Linked DNA regions of Homo sapiens: regions 1 and 3 are each linked to region 2. The links are contacts of gene promoters, found by promoter capture Hi-C in human tissues and cell types (Jung and others, 2019). All regions are on one chromosome and are shown on one strand. Each heading gives the region's core, a stretch centred on a gene start or on the middle of the fragment in contact. The rest is flanking DNA. Distances are from core to core; before and after follow the strand shown.

Region 1 (3,120 bases), core at 393-2,892, 480 kb after region 2:
AAATGGTGCTGAAGGAGGTACCTATTCCATGTGGAATAGACTAGGACATTTTGTTCCTTCTGAACAAACCTGGGGAGAAAAAGAAAGAAAATCCAAGTTTTATTTTAAAAGCATTAAAAGGCTGCTGCTGTGTACTCAGTCACAGCTTTGGGCACCCACATGGCTACACACTGTGGAGATGGAGAGGGAAGAAGGCAGGCTTTGCCTGGTGGGCAGATGATTTAGTTCAGGAGCACTGTTGCGAAAGTGGAAACCCACTCAGCTCAGCTCCAGGATAATGGGGTATTGAAGGAAAGCACAGTCCAGCCAGGTACCCAGGGGTGGGAGAGGGGTACTGGGCAAGTTGCTGTCCCTCCACTTAAGATGAGCTCCATGGTGTCCCACACTTTTGCTCCATCCTGCACATAGCTGCTTTCCTCCTAATTAACTGCCAGGCCCACTACAGGGAGACTCATGCAAATGGAAATATTCCAAAGGATGAATAACCCCCCAAAACATGGTGGGGGGGAATTGCCCATTAACTTTCTGTGTAGCTTCAGTTATATCCAGTGTCCCATCTTCAACTTTTACACAAAGCTGGGTTTGAGCCCTGGCTCTACTACATGTCAGCTGACTGTGGGCATGTCTTGTGACTCCTCAAAGTCTCAGTTCCCTCTTCGGTAAACTGGAGACCATGGCTCCCAACACAGATACCAGGAGGAGTAAATGGGAGAATGCATGCCATGTGCTTTGGCAGTACCTAGGAAAAGATAGTTCTTATGATCTTTGTAGCTCTCTAAGTTTGGGGAAGTGAGCTGTTGGGTCCAGGGTGCTGGCTGGGCAGGCTGATGCAAACCCTGCCTCCTTGGGGGCTCTGGGAATGATTCTGTAGGGCTGTTTGCTCAGGGAATCTGGTAAAGGAGGGAGCAAGAGAGAGAATGTAAGAGCATAACCAAGTAGGAGTGCTGGGAGCCAAACTGGGTCAGGAGCTGGGGTGCAGCATGGAGCCGAATTAAAGGCCCAGAGAGAGTGAAAGTGACCTTCCAGCTCTGATATTTGTGAGTCTAGATGGTCTGCTGTCACGTGACTCAGAACATGAAATGAGCAAGTGATGTTAGAGGAGTCGTTAGGGTAGAGACCACATCTTTCCTCTTCACTGCTGCATCCCTGGCTCCTGGCACAATGCTCAGCTCATTATAGTGACTCCATAAACACCTGTTGAATACATGAATTCATGGATGAATGACATGGGCATTGTGAGAGTAAACTAACTGGGGCATAAGTAAGGAGCTGTGTAACGTGGAGTCATGGGTGTTACAAGGTCCTGGGCATGACAGGGTACTCATGCACAAAACCAGGTAAATTGGTCCAATAATACCACCACCACCAATACCACCATCCTTATCTTATTAATAGCTACCATTTTTACACACATTTTTGTTGGGGAGCAGAGTCTGTTTTAAGTTGTCTTGCTTTATTTAATTATTACAATTTCCCTGGTAGATAGATATCATTATTCTCATTTCACAGATGTGGAAACTGAGGCCAAAAGATTAAACACCTTTCTGAGGGTGACATAGTCAGTGAGTGGAAAAGTTGTGATTCTAACCCACATGTGCCTGACTCCAGCCAATGTTATAATGTCTGCCAAATATGCACCCTCTCTTTGTGGACCAAAAGGCCATCCTTCCAGGCAGCAGCCAAAGTGTCAAACAACTGGGGCTGTGTGATCCATCTAATCTGAGTCACACCTGGGTTGACCAGCGAACTAAGGGCAGTCATCTTACAGGCTCTGGGTTTAAGAGGGAGAGACCCCTGACCATAATTACACACGATAGGGAAGAGGGAGAGGTTCCTGGGACGCTGGGGCATCTCTTTCTAGTGAAAAAAGTCTGGAGAAGGATGTGGCTGCCTTGTGAGCAGCTCTTTCCAGAATGGTATTCTTGCGCAATGCCTTTGGATGAAGAGGTCGTGGGCATTGGGATAGCCAGTGGACTGTTGACTGTTGAGTTGGAGGCTCTGGCTGGATACACTGGACTGTTCTTATAAAATCATAGTAAGTAAATGTATAAGTATGGTATATGAGACATCTCTATATTTATATCTAGGTGGAGGATCTCATGAAGAGTGAGGAGATCCATAAACGACCTGAGTTTAGTTTCTCCTGAGCACACCGTCTTGGGCATACCTCCTTGGAGTTGCCTCCTGAAACCCCCAGAAGTAGCTTAGGGAGACTTATAGTGAAGAGTGAGGAGTTAACAATGATATGGGTAGGGATAGCACCAAGTCAAAATCCTAAATTAAAGTTAATAGGACCCCATTGCAACCTTCAGTCTGGTGAGACCAGGGATTGTTTGGGTCACAAGGAAAAAGGTTTTTGCTTTGCTTGAGCCAGAGGTAACTGGTTGATTGAGGGATCTTGGGCATATGTGTGAGAAGACCACCAAGAGACAGAAATAATTCAGGAAAAAGAGTCAGCTGCCTCTGCATGGTGGCCCGTTTTTATCTAGAGGTTGAAAAGCGGCTGTAAATTCCTTGGCAGCTGTCCATCAAGGGCTGGGTTTGTTTCTCAACCATTTGGATAAGGGTGGGCTTTGTGACCAACAGAAGAATGTTTGGAAGGGATGCTGTTATGGCTCCTAAGAAATTGAAAGCTTGTACTTCCCGGATATTTGAATTTTCTTTCTGAGAGCTCCATCCCCCCAGGTGGAAGTGTGACTATCCTGAAACTGTCATGCTGAAAGGTCACAGGTGGACTCCTCAGTCCAACAGTTCAGCTGAGCCCAAGCTTCCAGCCACCCCCACCAGGGTGCCAGACATGGGAGTGAAGCTGTCGGGTCTTCTGAACTAACCCATCCACCAGCTGAATTTCCCTGAGTGATTTCAGTTGATGGCTTATGAAGCAGAAAACTTACCCAGCTGAGCCTTGCTCAAGTTCTTGATCCATAAATTGTGAGATATAGTCAAATGGTTGTTTTTTAAAAAGTCACTGAGTTTTGGAGTGATTTGTTATTCAGTAATAGATAACCAGAATAATCATCTTTCAGCCCTCTTTCTTGCCCAGACTGGGGAGAGCTTCAAGTGTTGGTCAAACAAGGACAATGTTTCTGGAGAGATACAGGAGTATAACTGGCACGTGAA
Region 2 (3,218 bases), core at 356-2,855:
GGAACCAGGTAAACATCTGGTAGAAAGCCTTCCAAGTGGAGGGGACAGGCTTTGCAGAACTCCTGAAGTTGATGTGTGTCTGGTGTGTTCAGAAATAGAGCCAGTGTGGCTGAAGGTAGTAGGGGGAGCAGGAAATGAGGTGTGAGATTTAGGGGAGCAGGCAGATGACGTAGGGCTTTGAGGTCATTAAACTTTGAGAGAAATGGGAGCTGGTTAGAGGCTTCCCAGCAGAGGCTTTTAATTGCATCACCGCCTAATGCATCTTGATGGATATCATGAATATAATTATCTCAAGGGATATTCAGTATTTGTGTTTCTTTTGATGTGAAACAGTGTAATACTTTGTACAGTATATATTCATTCATGTTACAGTAGGCTCTGCTTATAACTGTCCACAAAGAGGTATTTGTTGAATGAATGAATGAATGAACAAATGGGGTTGACCTTTTCGCTCCCTCCATGCGGGTTCTCAACCTATTATTTCAACTTTATTGCCCCTACACCCTTTCTCAACTTGGGTTCTATTCACCCGTCTTGTTGAGTACTAATTAGGAAAAAAAAAAAGGCAGGCTAGTGGGAGCAGGGAAAAACAAAGAGATAAGGCAAATTAGCTATACGTCTGTCTTTCTTCATGGTCCAAAACATATAAACAAAAGGAAGAAACAAATAAGCCATAGGTCTACTTTTCTTTATGGCCCAGGACATATGGCCCTTCTACCCAGATAACGTACTTAACTCACAAACTTCCTGCTTACCTTCAAATGCCTCAATTTCTGAAACACTTCAGCTGACAAAAAAAAAAAAAAAAAAAGAAAGAAAGAAAAAAAAAAAGCAAGTTAACTCCCTGCTACCTGGTGTTATCAATCACTCCAAGTTCCAGTCTATAAAATTCTCAACAAGCCTTTGTTTCCTAGCAATGAGCTCCTCCTCTGCTGAGTCGGCCCGCTGCTCCCTGGCAACGAACTTTCATACTTTCTTTAATCTGTCTTTCTTTATCTACCACTGTCTTGGTAAATTCTTTTACTCCCACACTGAGAAAGTCGTCACTCACTGGCGACACGTTGAAAGAGTTCTTTCAACTCTGTATTTCTGCCTCTGTCTCTGCTCATTCCATTTCCCGCTACTTGAAATGCTTCTCCAGTAGATTAAAATTCTGCCTATTGTTAAAGACGCAGGGACAAGCTCCACGTCCTCCAGGAAATCCCTGCAGACTCTGGCCTTCGTTGCCTTTTCTGAGCTCCTGTAGCATCCTTCCTCTGCTACCTTTCATTGGATAACTTTAGTTGTTTATTTTAAAACCACTGTTTGAACTCTCTCTACGTGTTAGGCAAAGAATATACAAATGAACATTAGCATTTCAGTGGGGTACCTTTACCATTTCTGTTTTATGGAAACTGAGTTATAAGAGAGGCTCAATGACTTGGCCGATCTCATGTAGATTAATGAACAAGGAGTGTATCAGGACCGGGACACAAGTCGTTCCCAAGACAAGCAATAGTCCCTGTCCTTCCTACTCATAAAAGGGTTAACCTAGCATTTCCTTGCCGTGAAACAAAAGCGGCCGCGGATAGAGAAGCTTGTCCTGTGAGGGATTCCGTAGAGACACTCCTCCGCTGCCTGAGTCCTCGGCGAACATGGCGGCCCCCGAGTCAGGGCCGGCTTTGAGTCCAGGCACTGCAGAGGGTGAGGAGGAGACGATTCTCTATGACTTGTTGGTCAACACCGAGTGGCCACCGGAGACTGAAGTACAGGTGAACCAGGCCCATCTACAGCAGCAGCCAGCTTGGCGCGGGCGCTTCGTGGGTAGAGCCACGTAGCAGGAGCCACGTAGGGGAGTGGAGACGGGTGGGTGGGGGACTAGGGCCGGTTGGCTTGTGCGGTCGCCTTGGCAACGGCACCTTGGGCTAGCGGGGGTCTAGGGCGGGGTGGGGTGGTGGTCCCTGAGATTCTTCCTGGGCTCAGAATTCGGTTGTTGGGGGCTGGAACTTCGTGCTCTGGGGAGCGTACGATCCCACTTTGGTTCTCAGTTTCGCTCTCTGTATTGGGAGGAGAGGGGATTGTTAGTGTCGCTCTCTGTATTAGGAGGGGAAGGCACAGCGCTGGACTCGAGGGTCCTTTCTCCTATCTGGACCCTCAGTGGTCCCTTCTCGCGGTCTGGCTAGGGCTAGTCTGGGCCGACGCTCAACTGCGATGGGAGAATTTTCCAGGACCTTACAGTCTGCAGCATCTGCCAGGCTGGTGCAGAGCGCAGAATCTGAGCCTTTACCCATACTGGGGGCTGGATCGCGCCAGGTCTTGTGTGTTTCAATAAAAGAGCATTTAATAAGGGTGTGCGTGTCCGTTCGTCTGTCTCGGTGTCACAGGTGCTGTGCTAGGTGCTAAGGATACAGAGATGAATATGTTTTCGTGGAGCTTCTCGTCTAGAGGGGAGACAGTCCCGTAAACGTTTTTCATAACCTAGCGTTTTATGCGCTATAGTTAGCGATGTGAGCAAAATGCCACGGAAGTGCAGAGTAAAGAGCTGCTGACTGGGATTGGGATCTCCGCTACAGAAGGGTTATAGAGGTTGATAATTTATGGACTGGATCTTGGGATTATCAGTTGTTTGGTAGTGAAGGCCTCCCGGGTCTGTGATGAAGAGTAGGAACCATGGATCCATGTTTATTTTATTTTATTTTTTATTATTATTATTTTTTGGATCCATGTTTATTTAACAGATATTTATTGAGTGCTTAACACGTGCCAGTTACTGTTTTAGACCCAGAGGAAGCAGCCAGATCGAAAAGAACCTTTATTAAAGATTATGTAGTCCAGCCCATGTGAGTTATCTTACATTTTTTCTGAGTGTTTCTTTGCTGGAGAAACGACTCATTTTTCAGCCCAAAGTTTGTATTTTTTTCCTCTGTAGCCTCCTTCCCACTGCAGTTTGTGCTTATCATGAATAATTTATTTTGTAGACGGGTAGAGATCTGCATATATTACTGTTTAATTTCAAGTACTTAGTTTGTCTTAATGTGAATATTTTTTGGGTTATGCAGCTAGGAAGCTGTTGCTGAGGCAGCTGGTTAGATAAGTTTCCACTCCTTAACACTCATTGGTTAATTGCAGTAATGTTTCAGAATGCTTACCATAAATTGATTCCAAAAAAGTAACCACAGAATTAACTTACTTTGAAACCCTTAGCACTTTGTTTTGTGTTTGTGTGTTGGGGGTGGGGG
Region 3 (3,139 bases), core at 551-3,050, 440 kb after region 2:
TTTGGGGTGGAAAATTATTATACAGATGGAAAGGATTTTTCAATTAAATCTAAGTCAGTGAGATTTTAAGCAGCTAAGAGTTTGAGATGTGCTTCCTAGGGAGATTAGAACTTGGGTGAGCAAGGCCATGAGGCAGGACCTGCTACATAATTTGCAGTCCAGTGCAAAATGAAAACAACGGGCCCCTCTTTCAAAAATTGCATAGCATTAAACCAAGTGCAGGATCCTCTGAGCATGGGGCCGTCTGTGACTTCCTGGGCCACATATCTGTGAGGCTGGCCCTGCCCCCAGGGCATTCCGAGGCTTTAGAGGGACCAAGATGTAGTGGGAAAATCAAGGAGCTGTATGCTGAGCTAGACAAACCTCAGTCAATTCTCAGTTTTGTGTGTTACTGGTTGTTTGACCTTGGGCAGGTGAAGAAGGTACCTCTATTTCCTCCTTTGTGAAGTGGAGCTAAAAATATCAGTCCTATGGTGATATTGTAAAGATGAAATGAAATCAAGTTTGTAGCGTGCTTAGCAGAGTGTATGATATCTAGTAAGAGCTTTAAATCTTAGTGTTTCATAGCAGTGTTGCTGGTGCCCTGCCATGGCCACCTGTCCCTCCTTAGTACCTACCAACTGCCTTCCAAATGCTGCCACCTGCATTGCTAGGCTGATGGCTTTTCTCTTGCTGCTGACAGAGAAATAATTACCACCACTCTCCTTTGTCATCTTTCAGCCATGGGCTGAGGGAGTGTGGAGTATCAGTACCCCAGCTCCCTTGCCCCTCGGGTGAGGTACCTCTGATCTGTGTTTCTTACTGGGGATCTCAGAGTTTTCCCAGTGGTATTAAGCCTCATGCCCCCCTGAGAGGTAGCTGGCATGATAACACATTCCTTAGTGGCCACTTTCCCTTCCCTGTGTCTTCCCCATTCCTCTACCAGGGCTCCTGTATCAGTGTGTTTTCACATTGCTGTAAAGGAATACCCGAGGTTGGGTAATTTCTAAAGAAAATAACTTTCATTGGCTCACAGCTCTGCAAGCTGTACAACAAGCATGGTGCTGGCAACTGCTTTGGGTGAGGGCCTCAGGAAGCTTATAATCATGGAGGAAGGCCACAGGGAGCCAGCATGTCACATGGGGAGAGCAGGAGTGAGAAATAGAGAGAGGGGAGGTGCCACGCTCTTTTATACAACAAGATCTCACATAAACTCGGAGTGAGAACTCACTCGTCACCAAGGGAATGGTGCTAAGTCATTCATGAGGGATCTGCCATGAGAATCCAAAACACCTCCCACCAGGCTCTACCTCCAACACCGGAGATCACACTTCAACGTGAGATTTGAAGAAGACAAATATCCAAACCATATTATTCTGCCCCAGTCCCCCAAATCTCATGTCCTTCTCACATGGCAAAATACAATCATCCCTTCTCAATAGTCTCCCAGAGTATTATCTTGTTCCAGCATCAACTTAATCAAGAGCTCCAAGTTCCGAGTCCAAAGACTAAAGTCTCATCTGGAGATAAGTTCCTTTCACCTATGAGCCTGTGAAATCAAAACCAAATTACTTACTTCCAAGATACAATGGTGGTACAGGCATTGGGTAAACATTCCCATTCCAAAAGGGAGAAACTGGCCCAAAGAAAAAGTTAACAGGCCCAACCCAAGTCTGAAACGTAACAGGGTAGTCATTAAATCTTAAAGCTCCAAAATAATCTCCTTTGACTCCATGTCTCACATCCAGGGAACACCGGAGCAAGGATTAGTGATATGGTTTGGTTCTCTATCCCTGGCCAAATCTCATGTTCAGTTGTAATCCCCAGTCTTAGATAAGCCTGGTGGAAGATGACTAGATCATGGGAGTGGATCCCTCATGAATACTTTAGTACCATCCTCTTGGCACTGTCCTCGTGATAGTGAGTAAGTTCTTGTGAGATCTAGTCATTTAAAAGTGTATGACACCTCTCCCCTCTCTTCCTTGCCCTTGCTTTTTCTAGTGATGTGCCTGCTCCTGCTTCATCTTCTGCCATGATTGTAAGCTTCTTGAGGCCCCCCTAGAAGCTGATGCCAGAACTGTGCTTCTGGTATAGCCTGCAGAACTGTGAGCCAATTAAACTTCTTTTCTTTATAAATTACCCAGAATTAGGTATTTCTTTATAGCAGTGTGAGAACAGACTAATACAGGTGGGCTCCCAAGGCCTTGGGTGGCTCCATCCTGTGGCTTTGCAGTATATAGCCCATGTAGCTGCTCTAACAGGTTGGAGTTGAGTGCCTGCAGCTTTTCCATGCTGAGGTTGAAAGCTGCTGGGAGATCTATCATTCTTGGGTCTGGAGGATGGCAGCCCCCTTCCCATAGCCCCACTAGGCAGTGCTCCGGTGGGGACTCTGTGTGTGGGCTCCAACCCCACATTTCCCCTCAGCACTGCCATAGTAGAGTATCCCTGTGGGGGCTCCACCCCTGCATCAGGCTTCTACCTTGGCACTAAGGCTTTCTGATACGTCCTTTGAAATCTAGGTGGAAGCCGCTAAGCCTCCCTCATGCTTTGCATTCTGTGCACCCATAAGCTTAACCACTACATGGAAGATGCTAAGACTTATGACTGGAACCCTCCAGAGTCGCAGTCCAAGCTGTACCTGGGGCCCTTTGAGCTGCAGCTGGAGCTGGAGTAGCCAGGATGCAGCAAGTGTCCTGAGATTGAGCAGGAGAACGGGCCCTGGGCCTGCCCCCTGAAACCATTCTTTCCTCCTAGGCCTCTGGACTTGTGATGGGAGGAGCTGTGTTAGAAATCTCTGAAATATCTTTGAGATCTTTCTTCCCATTGTCTTGGATGTTAGGACTTGGCTCCCTTTGAGTCATGCTAATCTCTCTAGCAAGTGGTCGCTCTACAGCCTGCTTGGATTCTTTCTTTACCATAGGGCCAGGCTGTAAATTTTCCAAACTTGTATGCTCTCTTTCCCTTTTAAACATAAGTTCCAACTCTAAGTTATTCTTTTGCTCCCTCCTCTGATTGTAGGCTGTTAGAAGCAACTATTCCACTTCTTGAACACTTAGGACACAAGCCATAAGCCTTGCCAGCATCCATGTGGTGGTAAGCCTGTAGGGGCAGATTGCTGTCTAGAAATTTCTTCCACTGGGTACCATAAGTCATCACTCTC

Evidence for each region. The method cuts DNA at HindIII sites, captures the fragments that hold promoters and counts their contacts. A contact is called where the count stands out against the background at its distance.
Region 1: a contact is called between a fragment that was not itself captured here and the fragment with the promoter of NBAS in region 2, in 2 of the 25 tissues and cell types used here (mesendoderm cells and thymus).
Region 3: a contact is called between a fragment that was not itself captured here and the fragment with the promoter of NBAS in region 2, in 2 of the 25 tissues and cell types used here (H1 embryonic stem cells and lymphoblastoid cells).

The regions. Positions count from the first base shown.
Region 1 is chr2:15,080,374-15,083,493 of GRCh38, reverse strand. It overlaps a transcript of NBAS not described here. Among named protein-coding and RNA genes, the nearest start is that of LRATD1, 450 kb to the right of the region's middle. The HindIII fragment of the contact is 3,780 bases long and covers 1-3,120 here.
Region 2 is chr2:15,559,721-15,562,938 of GRCh38, reverse strand. NBAS (NBAS subunit of NRZ tethering complex) reads left to right here and starts at 1,605. Exons shown (of 52, transcript NM_015909.4): 1 at 1,605-1,751. The coding sequence starts at 1,635. LOC105373440 (a long non-coding RNA gene) reads right to left here and starts at 791. Exons shown (of 4, transcript XR_001739297.2): 1 at 756-791. RefSeq lists an enhancer at 1,406-1,815. The HindIII fragment of the contact is 7,047 bases long and covers 1-3,218 here.
Region 3 is chr2:15,124,193-15,127,331 of GRCh38, reverse strand. It overlaps a transcript of NBAS not described here. Among named protein-coding and RNA genes, the nearest start is that of NBAS, 440 kb to the left of the region's middle. The HindIII fragment of the contact is 4,483 bases long and covers 1-3,139 here.